2 separate regions of the Homo sapiens genome follow, and region 2 is linked to region 1. The links are contacts of gene promoters, found by promoter capture Hi-C in human tissues and cell types (Jung and others, 2019). All regions are on one chromosome and are shown on one strand. Each heading gives the region's core, a stretch centred on a gene start or on the middle of the fragment in contact. The rest is flanking DNA. Distances are from core to core; before and after follow the strand shown.

Region 1 (7,024 bases), core at 4,508-7,007:
TGAGATAGGGTCCCACTCCATCTCCCAGGCTGGAGTGCAGTGGTGCAGTCATGGCTCAACCTCCTGGACTCAAGTGATCCTCCCATCTTAGCCTCCCAGGTAGCTGGGACCACAGGCATGTGCCACCATGCCTGAATAATTAAAAAACAATTTCTTTTTTGTAGCAATGAGGTCTCACTATGTTGTCTGGGCTGCTCTCAAACACCTGGCTCCAGGCGATGCTTCCACTTAGGCCTCCCAAAGTGTTGGGATTATAGGCGTGAACCAAGGCGCCTGGCCCCTGAATATAGGTTTTTAATTTACTGCCTATTCTTGTCTCACTGCCATGGTTAGAACCTCTAGAATAATATTGAGTAGACGTAATAATAGAACGCATTATTGTTACTGACTTTAAATGTCTAATTATTAACTAGGATGCTGTTTACTCTGCATTTTTGGTAGATACATTTTATTAGATTAAGGAAGTTTCTTTATGTAGTTTGTTAAGGTTTTTAAAACATTTTGTGAATGGATGTGCATTTATATCAATGGTTTTCCTGTGTCTGATCAAATGAATCAAATAATTTCTCTTATTTAATTTGTTTTACTATGGTGAATTACATTGACAGAGGTGTTTTTTTTTTTTTTTTCTGGAGTTTCTGGTGTCCAGGCTGGAGTGTGCAGGGTGCAATTATAGCTCATTCAGCTTCAAACTCCTAGACAATTGGGCTCCAGTGGTCCTCCTACCTCAGCCTCCTAGGTAGCTGGGATTACAGGGGCGAGCAACTGTGCCATTTGTAAGAGCTTTTTACTGTAAAATTATGCTTGCATTCCTGAAGTAAACCCAATAAAAAAAATATGTACATGTATGTGTGAATATGTGGATTTCTAAATTCTGATTTAATTTAAGATATCTGTTTCAGTAGCCATGAGTGAGGATGAATTCTCATTTATTATTTTGTTTGATTTGATTTCAAGGTTATGCTACCCTTATAGAATGAGCTGTTTGTTCCCATTGTTCTTTATCTGGAAGCATTTGTATAAGTTTGGGATAATCTGTTTCTTAACTTTTTTGGTAGCAATCTCCTGTAAAATCACTGGGGTGTGGTCATTTGTGTGGCAGATTTCATTTTGTTAATGGTCATAAGTCTATGCATAGTTGAGTTCCATTTTGTTAATTATTTCTTCTAGGAAACTGTCATTTATCTATTTCCTAATTCATCAGCATAAAATTATTCATAATATTCTCTTATTTTTCAAGCCACGGCTATGTCTGCTATGTCTTTTTTTCATAATATTGTTTGTGTCTTTCTCTTTGTTCTTAATCTGTCAAAGGTTTTATTATTATTTATTTTTTTATTTTTTGAGATGGAGTCTCACTCTGTCACCCAGGCGGGAGTGCAATGGCACAATCTCGGCTCACTGCAACCTCTGTCTCCTGGGTTCAAGTGATTCTACTGTCTCAGCCTCCCAAGTAGCTGGGATTACAGGCGCCCGCCACCACGTCCAGCTAATTTTTGTATTTTTAGTAGAGACGGGGTTTCACCATGTTGGCCAGGCTGGTCTGGAACTCCTGACCTCAGGTGATCCACCCACCTCGGCCTCCCAAAGTGCTGGGCCTACAGGTGTGAGCCACCACACCTGGCCTGTCAAAGGTTTTACATATTGTTATTTCAGAGAACCAGCTTTTGGTTTTATGAATCCTCTCTTCTGTATTTTGTATTCTATTTTGTCAATTTCTGCTCTTTAGCATTTTTTCTTCACATTTTTCCTTGTCTGCTGAGTTGTTGTTCCTTTATTAACTTCTTGATGAAATGCTGAGCTACTTATTTTCCAGTCTTCTTCTCTAATATAACCAGTTAAGCTTATATATTCTCCTTTAGCTTCTGTTAAAACTCCATCAGTTTCGGGCCAGGCTCTGTGGCTCACCCTGTAATCCCAGCACTTTGGGAGGCTGAGACAGGTGGATCACTTGATGTCAGGAGTTCAAGACCAGCCTGACCAACATGGTGAAACCTTGTCTCTACTAAAAATACAAAAATTAGCTGGGCATGGTGGCCTGCTCCTGTAATCCCAGCTACTTGGGAGGCTGAGGCAGGAGAATCGCTTGAACCCAGGAGGCAGAGGCTGCAGTGAGCCAAGATCCTGCCACTGCACTCCAGCCTGGGCGACAGAGAGAGACCCTGTCTCAAAAAACAAAACAAGATGAAACAAAAAAGACCCAAACAAACCAAAAAGCTCCTCAAGTTTTGGAATGTATTTCCATGACCATTCCATTTTACATTTGTGTCCATCAATTTCCTCTTTTCCATCCTGCTCTCTGCCCCGGGGCTGCCTGTGGGAACTACAAGGGGCTTCTTGCTGTGCCCTCTGTCTTCCATTTGGGTTCAGCCATTGGGGATTCCTGGCAGGAGACAGAAGAGGAGATCGAGGTCAGGGTATCTATGTCCCTGAGCTCCTCTCTGAGATTGCCTCAAGCTGCTTATTTATGTCCCTTGACAGAAGGTCATTGCTTCTTGCATGGTGGTTTGCTCTGCAAAAAAATCTCACTTGGGATTTCTCTAACTTCTCTCTGTTCTCATCTCTTTGGACGTATGGGTTGTGACAGTTCTACTGTTACTAGTATGAGATCCTCCACTGTTCCTTGTGATTTCCACATATCTTACCCAGGCTGGAGTGCAGTGGTGTCATCATGGCTCACTGCAGCCTCGACCACCTGGGCCCAAGTGATCCTCCCGCCTCAGCCTCCAGAGTAGGTGGGACTACAAGCTTGCACCACCGCACCTGGCTAATTAAACTTTTTTTTTCTTTTTTCAGAGATAGGGTCTCCCTATGTTGCCTAGGCTGGTCTCAAGCTCCTGGGCTCAAGTGATCCTCCTGTCTTGGCCTCCCAAAGTGCTGGGATTACAGGCATGAGCCACGACACCCATCCTTCATATTCATATTCTTTTTTTTTTTTTTTTTTTTTTTTTTTGAGACGGAGTCTCACTCTGTTGCCCAGGCTGGAGTGCAGTAGCTCATTCTTGGCTCACTGCAAACTTCACCTCCCGGGCTCAAGCGATTCTCCTGCTTCAGCCACACGAGTAGCTGGGATTACAGGCACGCACCATCACGCCCAGCTAATTTTGTATTTTTAGTAAAGATGGTGTTTCACCATGTTGGTCAGGCGGGTTTGGAGCTCCTGACCTCAGGTGATCCCCAGCCTCGGCCTCCCAAAGTGCTGGGATTACAGGTGTGAGCCACCGCAACTGGTCAGTCCTTCATATTCTTTAATAATCCAAAAAAGCTTTTCAAGGTTGTATTATTCATTACTTCTTTATTTATTTTTCCCAGTTCCCTGGTTATCCATGGAAACTGTCTCATTTTCTTCCCTTCTTTCCCCCCCTCCCCCCGACCATGGAATCTTTTTGGCCACCTGTCTAATTTTCTTTTATCTTATTTTTTAATTTCTAAAAAAATGCCTTCTGGAGTTGTGGATGCCACAGACTTTATCACCTTTTCCTGCACTGTTAATCAAAATCATATCATTAAATCTGAATTATAAGATTTTGGAAATAAACCTGATAAACCTGCAGAGCTCATTACTGGCCTCTCCATCTGATGGAGGTACAGTAATCACTGTGTTTAGTTTTTGTAGTTAATGGTGTTATACCATTTTACGTGGAGCTTGATTTTGCATGGCTGGCTAGTGACTCAGCCTTTAGGATGAAGGGAGACAGAGGTAACACTTTCTTGATTTGGCTTTCTTCCCTTGCCTGTTTTTGCACCTCTGCATCAAATGTGAAGGAATCAGCTGCCGAAATTTATGACTGATCCCTGCCCTTCCTCAGCCCATCTAGAGAACTGCAGCAACCTGGAAGGCAGTGCCAGGACCAATCTGTCATTTAACTTAAAATACATTTTTTTTTTTGAGACGGAGTCTTGCTCTGTCACCCAGGCTGGAGCACAGTGGCATGATCTCGGCTCACTGCAACCTCTGCCTCCCGGGTTCAAGTGATTCTCCTGCCTCAGCCTCCCAAGTAGCTGGGATTACAGGTGCCCGCGCCACCACAGCAGCTAATTTTTGTATTTTTAGTAGAGATGGGGTTTCGCCATGTTGACCAGGCTGGTCTGGAACTCCTGACCTCGGGCGATCCGCCCGCCTCGGCCTCCCAAAGTGCTGGGATTACTGGAGTCTGCTTTCTTTTACATCAATCATATCTTCTTGAAACTACAGCCCGACTGGGTGTGGTGGCTCACGCCTGTAATCCCAACACTTTGGGAGGCCGAGGCGGGTGGATCACTTGAGGTCAGTAGTTTGAGACTAGCCTGCTCAACATGGTGAAACCTCGTCTCTATTAAAAATACAAAAATTAGCCAGGCGTGGTGGCGTGTGCCTGTAATCCCAGCTACTTGGGAGGCTGAGGCAGGAGAATCGCTTGAACCCGGGAGGCGGAGCTTTCAGTAAACTGAGATTGCACCACTGCACTCCAGCCTGGGCGACAGAGCGAGACTCCCTGTCAAACAAAACAAAACAAAAAACTATACCCCTTGATTTGACATGGCTCTTTCTTAATTCTCCCCAATAGCATGTTTACTCTTAGGATGTGTCAATTCTTCAGACAGCTCATCCCATCTTTTATTGGGCCATTTTCCTATGAAGATGCAAAATATGTGGGTGGAGGTTGGAAGGTGGGAGGCTAAAACAAACGGAATCACTTGGAATCTCTTTTAACTTTATGGGCAAGGTGGGGGATTATTGGATTTGAGCGCACCCCACTCATGTAACTGTTTTGCAAAATACTTAAAATTATTCAAGGAACACACGAATATCTTTTTTTTTTTTTTTTTTTTGAGATGGATTCTTGATATATTTCCCAGTCTGGTCTCGAACTCCTTGCCTCAAGCGATTCTCCCACCTCGGCCTTCCAAAGTGCTGGGATTACAGTCATGAGCCACCGCGCCCGGCCAATAATGTTTGTTTAAAAATAAAAAGATAAATAAGAAACTCGAAGTAAGGTCCGCTTTGACCATCGTCCCGATCGTTCTCTTCTCTGGAGGTAACCGTTACCAGCGTTTTGAGCACACTTTTCCAGTCTCCTTTCTATATGTTTTCTTTCCTCTACTGCATATACAGAGTTTCTTTTTATACAAATGACGCCTCTTGGGGTCTCATTAAGACCCTAACGGGAGACGTGATGGCCAATTTATTTAAGGAAAGCAGACTAAACAATCGTTTATGAAAACCTACTGGGTGGCAACCCCGCGCTAAGTGCTTTCTTTGGCATGAAGGGTTCTGGTATTTCACTCGTCGCAATCGGTTAGCTAAGCCATTAGTTTAGAGGCTGGGGGGCGAGTACGGGGAGAGTCGCTTCAAAGCGAGGAGGTAGGGTTTGCATTTTGATGGGACCTGCAGGAAACCTAATAGAGTGCGGTACAACCGCAAAACAGAAAAATGCTGTCATCGGCAGTTGGCTCTGTCAATAAAGCTTGCGAAGCTGAAATGCGAAGAACTATCTGCCGAGACCGAAGCTTCCTTCGGAATCTAGGAATCGACACCGCGCCTGCGAGGCTAGCCTTGGAGCCCGGAGAGGAAGGCACCAGCAATGGCAAAAAGGATGCACTGAGCAGGCAGCAACCGAGCAGCCAACCCGAGAGCTGGGAGCGCGCGGGCCCGGTCGGAAAATGCGCCTGCGCAGACCGCTGGGGACGGGAGGGGCGGGGCTCGAGGGGCGGTCAATGCGCCTGCGCACACCGCACGGCGAAGTGGGGGAGGGCAGTCCGTGTGTGTCTGTGTTGTTGTTCGGCGGCGGCGGCGGCGGTAAGATGGCTGCCCACGGGGGCTCCGCGGCGTCCTCGGCGCTGAAGGGGTTAATTCAACAGTTCACCACCATTACCGGTAAGAGACGCGGTTACCGGAAGGTGGAGAGTGGGGTCCGGAGCGGGCAGCGGGTCTGCCCCGGGCTTCCCCTTACCTTCAGGCATTCCTCCTTCGGGCTTTACCCACAGCTGCCGTCCTCCCTCCTGAGGAAGAGGCGACGACGGCGTCGGGGTCTCCGGGTTCAGGCGGGAGACAGCCCCCCCCCGCTCCCGATACCCTCGTTCTCTGTCTCCTAGTAGCGTGGAGGGAGATCCCCCAACCCCCCGCCAGCCCAGACCTGGGAATGGGCCGAGTCCGTCCGCCCCCGCCGGCCCGGGGACCCGGGGGCGGGAGGAGTAGGGGGCCGCACCCGGGCCACCGCCCTCCTCCTCCTCCTTCATCATCTTCCCTTCTCTGTGCAGCCCTGCGGTGCGGTGCATCTCCTCACCTCCTTTTTTCCTTTCTTCCCCGGCCAGGTCATTCTGCCCCGGTCCCCGGCCTGCCCTTCCCCTTTCTGGGCCCCTCGGAGCCATCGCCGTGGCCCTGGCGGGTTCGGGCCCTCCCGCCTTCACGGCAAGGCCGGTGGGTTCGGCCGTGCCTTTACACTTCACGGGGGACAGGCCGCCAGAAGCGGGGGGTGCTGAGGAGGACCTCAGGGACTGAGGCTTTGAGGGAAGAATGAGGGGGAACCCCCAAGCTGAATAGGGGAGGCCTGGAAGAATCCAGGGTGGCGTTTCCCACCTCCCCATAATAAAATCATAAAGACGGAGACGATGGCGCCGGGGCCTCCTGCTGATAAGATAGGGATGGCGGCAGAAACTTCTTTGAGAGAAAATCTGTTTCTGGGTGTCGGTATCCCCGAAACCCTAGGCCTAGGTTCTCTCCCTTTGGACCCCTGCGAAGGACACACGCAGATCCTCTTACCGCCTGGAGGAAAGGCCCTAAAGCCATTCTATGAATTCTCTCTGTCTTGTTTCTCTCTGATGGTGCTGAACTTTTCTTGCATGAGTTATTAGAGGGCGGAGCAAATGATGAAGTTCTCTGTGGAGTGATTTGAGAGAAGAGTACTCCAATGTGCCTGAGTGTAATTTTGCCGTTCTAGTTTGTCGTTTTGGAAGGAGGTCAGAATGTTAGTTCCCTCTCAACGGATCTATACTTTATCTCGTAATTTGTTAGATGCGGAGAATGTTTCCACTGTTAATGTTC
Region 2 (7,359 bases), core at 4,834-7,333, 700 kb after region 1:
GCAGACTAAGCAATGCACAGAAAGGTCCCAAGGCAAGAGCAGGCCCAGCGCATTCAAGGGACAAGAAAGACGTCCGTGTGGCTGCGGTGCAGTCAGCAAATTAAGGAGGCAGGGGAGGGGCGCAGGTCGTGCACGGCTTTGCAGCTGTTGTCGGAGCTTTTCTTCTGAGTGAAATGGGAGGATTGGAGCAAAGAAGTGGTGTGGTCTGCCTTATGTTGTAAAAAGACAGCCCTGGCTGACACACTGGGACTAGACTGGGGTGGGGGCTGAGCTGGAAACAGGGAGACCTGTAGTAGTGCAGGTGAGAGATGATGGCATCGTGGACCATCTCGGTGGTAGCACTGGAGATGCTGAGGAGGGGCCACATTCTGGGCACAGTTTGATGGCCTTAGAGCCAGCAGAATTTCCTGGTGCAAAATGTGAGAGGGGAATAAAGACGGTGCCGAGGATTTCGGCCTGAGCACCTGAAGGATGCAACTGACGTTAACTGAGATGGGGAAGATGCAGGTGGGGCAGGTCCAGAGGAAAAGATCAGAACTTCGATTTTAGAAATGTGGAGGCCAGGAGCAGTGCTCATTAACTGGAATCCCAGCACTTTGGGAGGCCGAGGTGGGTGGATCACTTGAGGTCAGGAGTTTGAGACCAGGCTGGCTGACACGGTGAAACTCCGTCTCTACTAAAAATTCAAAAAATTAGCCGAGCATGGTGGTGGCACCTGTAGTCCCAGATACTCAGGAGGCTGAGGCAGGAGAATCACGTGAACCCAAGAGGTGGAGCTTGCAGTGAGCTGAGATCACGCCACTGCACTCCAGCCTGGGTGACAGAGCCAGGCTCCTTTCCATCTCAAAAAGAAAAAAAAAAAGAAAGAAATGTTGAATGTGAGGTATGTATTTCATCAACATCCAAGTGGAGAGATTAAGAATTGAAATGAATACACAGTATACATTAATAATAATAGCTGTATATAAGGCTGGGCACAGTGGCTCATGTCTGTAATCCCAGCACTTTGCGAGTCTGAGGCAGGAGGACTGCTTGAGCTCAGAAGATCGAGACCAACCTGCTCAACATGGTAAAGCCCCTTTTTTACAAAACAAAGTACAAAAATTAGCCAGCTGTGGTCCCAGCTCCTCAGGAGGCTGAGGTGGGAGGATCACTGGAGCTGGGAGGTGGAGGCTGCAGTGAGCCATGGTCGCACCACTGCACTGCAGTTTGGGTGAGAGTGAGACCCTGTCTCAATTTTAAAAAATAAATCGTTGTATCTAAGAGGTGGGATTATAGAAAAGTTTTTCTTTCTCCTCTTCCCACTTCTTACTTTGCTTGGTCTTTGGAATATTTCAAAATTTTGAAATCATAAACAAGTTTTACTTTTATTTTAAATTTATTTATTTATGAGACAGAGTCTTGCCCTTTTGCCCAGGCTGGGGTGCAGTGGTAGGATCTTGGGTCACTGCAACCTCTGCCTCCCGGGTTCAAGTGATTCTCCCGTCTCAGCCTCCTGGGTAGCTGGGATTACAGGCACCTGCCACCACACCCAGCTAATTTTCGTGTTTTTAGTAGAGACGGGGTTTCACCATGTTGGCCAGGCTAGTCTCAAACTCCTGACCTCGTGATCCACCGGCCTCGGCCTCCCAAAGTGCTGGGATTACAGGCGTGAGCCACTGAGCCTGGCCAAGTTTTACTTTTATAATAAAAAGTAAACCATATTAATTTTTTAAAAAAATAATAGCATGTAAGTTATAACATATAAGAGGAATAATTGAGGCTTGTGTCCAGAACTTGAAATTTAAATTTAGGTCAATTCCACATTCTCTGCGATCCCACTGCAGGCCAGACACTCTGCTAGTTCAGGGGATACTGAGATGAACAAAGGTGGTCCCTGCCCTGCTGCAGCGGGCTGTTCGACAGGCTCCAGGCCCGTCTCAGTAAATGCTATCATCAAAGTCCAAACCAAGACCTGGGGGAGTAGAAGGAGGAGGTAGCAGTGAGACTATACACAATCCCTGTACTATAAAAATGGCGAAAGCATGCAGATCAATAGACAGCCTCTGGGCCACACTGAGTGAATTTTAATGCAGGATGGAAGCACACAGATGGGTGATCAGGTCTCTCTTTACTGAAACACAGAACATGTGCCAAGGTGAGTCCAAGGACACCTCTGGGAACAGGTGAAGCCCCTCCCCACACATACACTCCGGTGGATGTGAGCGAGGGTCCTGTTGCCACATCTGGGGTCAGGGGCTTGGACATGCTGCCCTTCATGGGAACCTTCTGGGTACCTCTCAGCACAGTAACGCAGCTGCAGTCTGTCGGTGGGGGCCCAGGCTAGGGGCAGCACCCTCTTTTGGCATACGGGACATGCCTGGCTGCAGCTGATGTCCGTTAGCCTCTCCTGACACGCAGTAAGGAGACCTGGAAGTGAGGCGCGTGGGCGTGGAGTTCCCGGTGGAGCTGGAGAGCAAAAGAGCCAGCTGTCCTTTCAGCCCATCTGGCCCATGAGCTCGCCAGAGGCAGAGGACAGGAAGGGACACTGGGGCAGAGTGCATGCGGAGGACGGCAACCCTTCCTGGGCCTCCTACATGCTGGACACAGGCTGGTGCCTCACACACATTATGTCATCTAAACCTCACAGCAACCTTATAAAGCAGGTGTTAGGATCCTCATTTTATAAGGGATGAAAGTCGCATAGAATAACTTATCCAAGATCACACAGTTGGGAACTAGAATTCACACCCAGATCTAGCTGGTTCCTAAGCTCATTGTCTAATCCCCGAGCCCAAACTGTTGGGCTGTCCCCGGACGAGAACTGATGCCCAACCCCATGTGGCCTGGTGCCTGCGCCTCAGCTGCTTGACCTGCTCCTGATCTCGCGGTTTCTTTCCGATTCCTGAAATCATTTCTGGTTTGGGGGCTTAGACCTGAGATTCAAAACTGGCTTCCCGGCCGGGTGCGGTGGCTCACGCCAATAATCCCAGTGCTTTGGGAAGCAGAGGCAGGTGGGTCACCTGAGGTCAGGAGTTCGAGACCAGCCTGACCAACATGGAGAAACCCCATCTCTACTAAAAATACAAAAATTAGCCAGGAGTGGTAGTGTGCACCTGTAATCCCAGCTACTAGGGAGGTTGAGGCAGGAGAATTGCTTGAATCCGGGAGGTGGAGGTTGCAGTGAGCCGAGATCGTGCCATTGCACTCCAGCCTGGACGACAGAGCGAGAATCTGTCTCAAGAAAAATAAAAGAAAAGAAAAGAAAAAGAGAAAGAAAAAGAAAAAGAAAAAGAAAACTGGCTTCCCAGCCGGACGCAATGACTCAACGCCTGTAATCCCAGCACTTTGGGAGGCTGAGGTGGGTGGATCATGAGGTCAAGAGTTCAAGACTAGCCTGGCCAAGATGCTGAAACCTGAAACTCCATCTCTACTAAAAATACAAAAATTAGCCAGGTATGGTGGTGCGGGCCTGTAATCCCAGCTACTCAGAAGGTTGAGGCAGGAGAATGGCTTGAACCTGGGAGGCGGAGGTTGTGGTGAGCCAAGATCGCACCACTGCACTCCAGCTTGGATGACAGAGTGAGACTCAGTCTCAGAAAACAAAACAAAACAAAACAAAACAAAACAAAACAAAACAAAAGCAATTGGCTTCCCTCTCCCACAAGGATTCACACTCGCTACTTTGATTATCACATGCCGGGGGCATTTGTCACTTATTTGGCCATCGGGTGTCGAGCCCCCGTGCCATGTTTAGGGAACTCCTCACAGTGGGAGTCACGATTGGCCTCACTGCTGCTAAGAGAACTCCAAGGACACAGACATCCCTTCTTCCCGTCCCCTGGCACCTGGCTGTGGGCTCATGGGAGTACAAGGGCTAAGCTCAGCCTATCAAATGTTCCTACTCAGGACTTTGGCTCTGGAGCAAAAAGTCCAGTGAGACAAAAAGGCAGCGAGAACCTATGTGAATGTGTGTGCAGGCCACGTGATGCCCCTTGGCTGTGGCAGCATCCAATAGTGACTGACCAGCAAGAGGGACAGTGTCCCAGCCAGCCTGATCCCACTGTCTGGACCTCAGAGCTCCTGGGGGCCCTCCTGCCTATTTTCCAAGCCTGCTGTCCTGGCATTGCTTTGATTCTATGCACTCTGGGACGCTGCCAACAAATCCCCCTTTTACTTACGACAGACAGAGGTTTTCTTTCGCCTGCAACAAAGGATCCCACTCTCCACGGACATATCTTGCTTCCCTCTGCTAAGGGCAATCATTCCACCTGTCCAGCCTGGCTATGAACTCTACACCTGGCATAAGACCCCCAGCCAGCATCTCTGCCAGGTTTACCCTTGCAAGGGATGACAGGAAGCCTGAGCCACTTTTCAGCAGTGTGGCACCCATTGACTGTGAGAGGTGCTGAATGCAAGCTTCAGGTATTAGCAAGGGCACTGTCCCATTGACTGTGAGAGGTGCTGAATGCAAGCTTCAGGTATTAGCAAGGGCACTGTCAAAGAGGCAATCCACATTAGACTGTGCACTGGGCCTGTTTTCACGGTTACATCTGTGAGCAGAGCTTAGACACTTCCCATCATGCCCCATCTGCTACTTTGTACCACACATTAGGAGAACAACCCACCCCTCAGTGAGGCCAGGCCCGTGACATCTGCACTGAGCTGACCCAGTCTAACCTCCAACAAGCCACACCATCCCCATCCTCAAAACCCTGACCCCGGAACTTTACCATTGGAAGTTCTATCCAGTGGGTTTTAGGAGAATTTTCCCAACTTGTACAAATACATCCCAATCATGGTCCTCATCTAGAGTATACATCTCTGCGGTTTTTTCTGCCTAGCCTCCCTATTTTCTTGGGGCTCATCCTTCCTCTATGGGATCCTGACTGGGTTGTCAGTCATGGTGACCCTTGCAGGCCATGGAGACCTGCACTTCCCCAGATGACATGAAAATTTGGGGAGAGGGGGCCGGGTGCGGTGGCTCATGTCTGTAATCCCAGCACTTTGGGAGGCCAAGACGGGTGGATCACGAGGTCAGGAGATTGAGACTATTCTGGCTAACACGGTGAAACCCCGTCTCTACTAAAAAAAAAAACATAAAAATTAGTTGGGCGTGGTGGCGGGCGCCTGTAGTCCCAGCTACTTGGGAGGCTGAGGCAGGAGAATGGCGTGAACCCAGGAGGCGGAGCTTGCAGTGAGCTGAGATCGCACCACTGCACTCCAGCCTGGGCGACAGAGCGAGACTTCGTCTCAAAAAACAAAAAGAAAGAAAGAAAAAGAAAAAAGAAAAGAAAATGTGGGGAGATGGAAGTCCCTTGTGAATCTATGGCTAACAAGGCTGCCTTTTCATACACATGAAGAAAGACTCTGAAGAATGAAGGGAGTAAAGCTAAGACAGGGAAAGAAAGAGAAAGTCCCTGTGATGGCGCTGGAGCTGCTGGATCCAGCCGTACTGAAGCTGAAGAGACACTTGTAGGTTTCTCAGACCTTGCCTTTTTTTTTTTTTTTTTTTTTTTGCATAAACTGCCCTGACTTGGGTTTCTGCCACTTGCAACCAAGAGTCCGACCTACCCTCCCATCAGTATCACTGACCTTTGCCTCAGAGGCCAGAAGGCCAAGCTTCCAAGGACCAGAAGAAACTGGGGGCTCTAGGAGTCACATGTTTACATTGCAGAGAAGGAAATGAAGAACTCGGAGAAGGCAGGCAGAAGCAAAGCCAGGCAGAGATCCTCAGATTCAGCTCCCAATTCTCCGTAAGAAACGAGACTCCCTTCCAAGCGCGGTAGCTGCTCTTCTGTGTCCTGCGGGTCTTCCCTGCAGCCCCTGCGAACCTCGCCCCTTCCTCTACTCCCCTGGCCCGGAAAGTGCCCACTCACCTGCTGCATCAGCCTTTCTGCCACTCTGGGGTCAGTGAGGTCTTCCGGGGAAGCCACACTCAGCCGCAGGAGGAGGAAACCTCCATTTTCACCTGCAAATGGAGAACAGTAAGATGAAAATCAGGGCTGGGCGCAGTGGCTCACACCTGTCATCCCAGCACTTTGGGAGGCAGAGGCAGGTGGATCACCTGAGATCGGGAGTTTGAGACCAGCCTGACCAACATGGAGAAATCCCGTCTTTACTAAAAACACAAAATGAGCCGGGCATGGTGGTGCGTGCCTGTAATCCCAGCTACTCAGGAGGCTGAGGCAGGAGAATCGCCTGAACCTGGGAGGCGGAGGTTGTGGTGATCTGAGATCGCAGCACTACACTCCAACCTGGGCAACAAGAGCGAAACTGTCTCAAAAAAAAAAAAAAAAAAAAAGAGGAGGATGAAATAGTCACATATATTTGCTTCCGTATGTACATTTCATGTGCAGAAAATTACACACAAGAGACAATCTCACGGGTTACATGTGTGGAGAGAACTGGGTGGGGGCACAGCCAGGGGAGAAAGGCATTTTATGGTGAACCTTTTCGTACCTTTCCATTTCAAATCATATGAATGTCTTATCTAATCAACAAATAATAAAGTATTTTTCTTTCCAGGGAAAAGAAGGAGCGATCAGACTGTCACTGTGTCTCTGTAGAAAGGAAAGACATGAGACTCCATTTTGAAAAAGACCTGTACTTTAAACAAGCTTTGCTGAGATGTTGTTAATTTGTAACTTTGCCCCAACCTTGAGCTCATAAAAACATGTGTTGTATAAAATCAAGGTTTAAGGGATCTAGGGCTGTGCAGGACGTGCCTTGTTAACAAAATGTTTACAAGCAGTATACTTGGTAGAAGTCATCGCCATTCTCTAGTCTCAATAAACCAGGGGCACAATGCACTGTGGAAAGCCGCAGGGACCTCTGCCCTTGAAAGCAGGTTATTGTCCAAGCTTTCTCCCCATGTATAGTCTGAAATATGGCCTTGTGGGATGACAAAGACCTGACCGTCCCCCAGGCTGACACCCGTAAAGGGTCTGTGCTGAGGTGGATTAGTAAAAGAGGATCTCCTCTTGCAGTTGAGATAGAGGAAGGCCACTGTCTCCTGCCTGCCCCTGGGAACTGAATGTCTCAGTATAAAACCCGATTGTACATTTGTTCAATTCTGAGACAGGAGAAAAACCACCCTGTGGCGGGAGGTGAGACATGTTTGCAGCAATGCTGCTTTATTATTCTTTACTCTGCTGAGATGTTTGGGTGGAGAGAAACATAAATCTGGCCTACGTGCACATCCAGGCATAGTATCTTCCCTTGAACTTAATTATGACACAGATTCTTTTGCTCACATGTTTCTTGCTGACCTTCTCCTTATTATCACCCTGCTCTCCTACTACATTCCTTTTTGCTAAAATAATGAAAATAATAATCAATAAAAACTGAGAAAACTCAGAGACTGGTGCCGGTGCAGGT

What was found. Contacts are between HindIII fragments. The study calls those that stand out against the background at their distance.
Region 2: a contact is called between a fragment that was not itself captured here and the fragment with the promoter of UBXN7 in region 1, in 1 of the 25 tissues and cell types used here (pancreas).

The regions. Positions count from the first base shown.
Region 1 is chr3:196,431,160-196,438,183 of GRCh38, reverse strand. It overlaps UBXN7 (UBX domain protein 7), which reads left to right and starts at 5,757. Exons shown (of 11, transcript NM_015562.2): 1 at 5,757-5,857. The coding sequence starts at 5,785. UBXN7-AS1 (UBXN7 antisense RNA 1) reads right to left here and starts at 6,799. Exons shown (of 2, transcript NR_046745.1): 1 at 6,743-6,799; 2 at 5,150-5,982. RefSeq lists enhancers at 5,440-5,519, 5,452-6,225, 6,600-6,649, 6,226-7,000 and silencers at 5,560-5,809, 5,830-5,889. The HindIII fragment of the contact is 10,299 bases long and covers 4,357-7,024 here.
Region 2 is chr3:195,728,239-195,735,597 of GRCh38, reverse strand. MUC20 (mucin 20, cell surface associated) reads right to left here. Exons shown (of 4, transcript NM_001282506.2): 3 at 5,859-5,950; 4 at 2,047-2,448. The coding sequence ends at 2,380. Among named protein-coding and RNA genes, the nearest start is that of MUC20, 11 kb to the right of the region's middle. RefSeq lists an enhancer at 1-478. The HindIII fragment of the contact is 3,313 bases long and covers 4,427-7,359 here.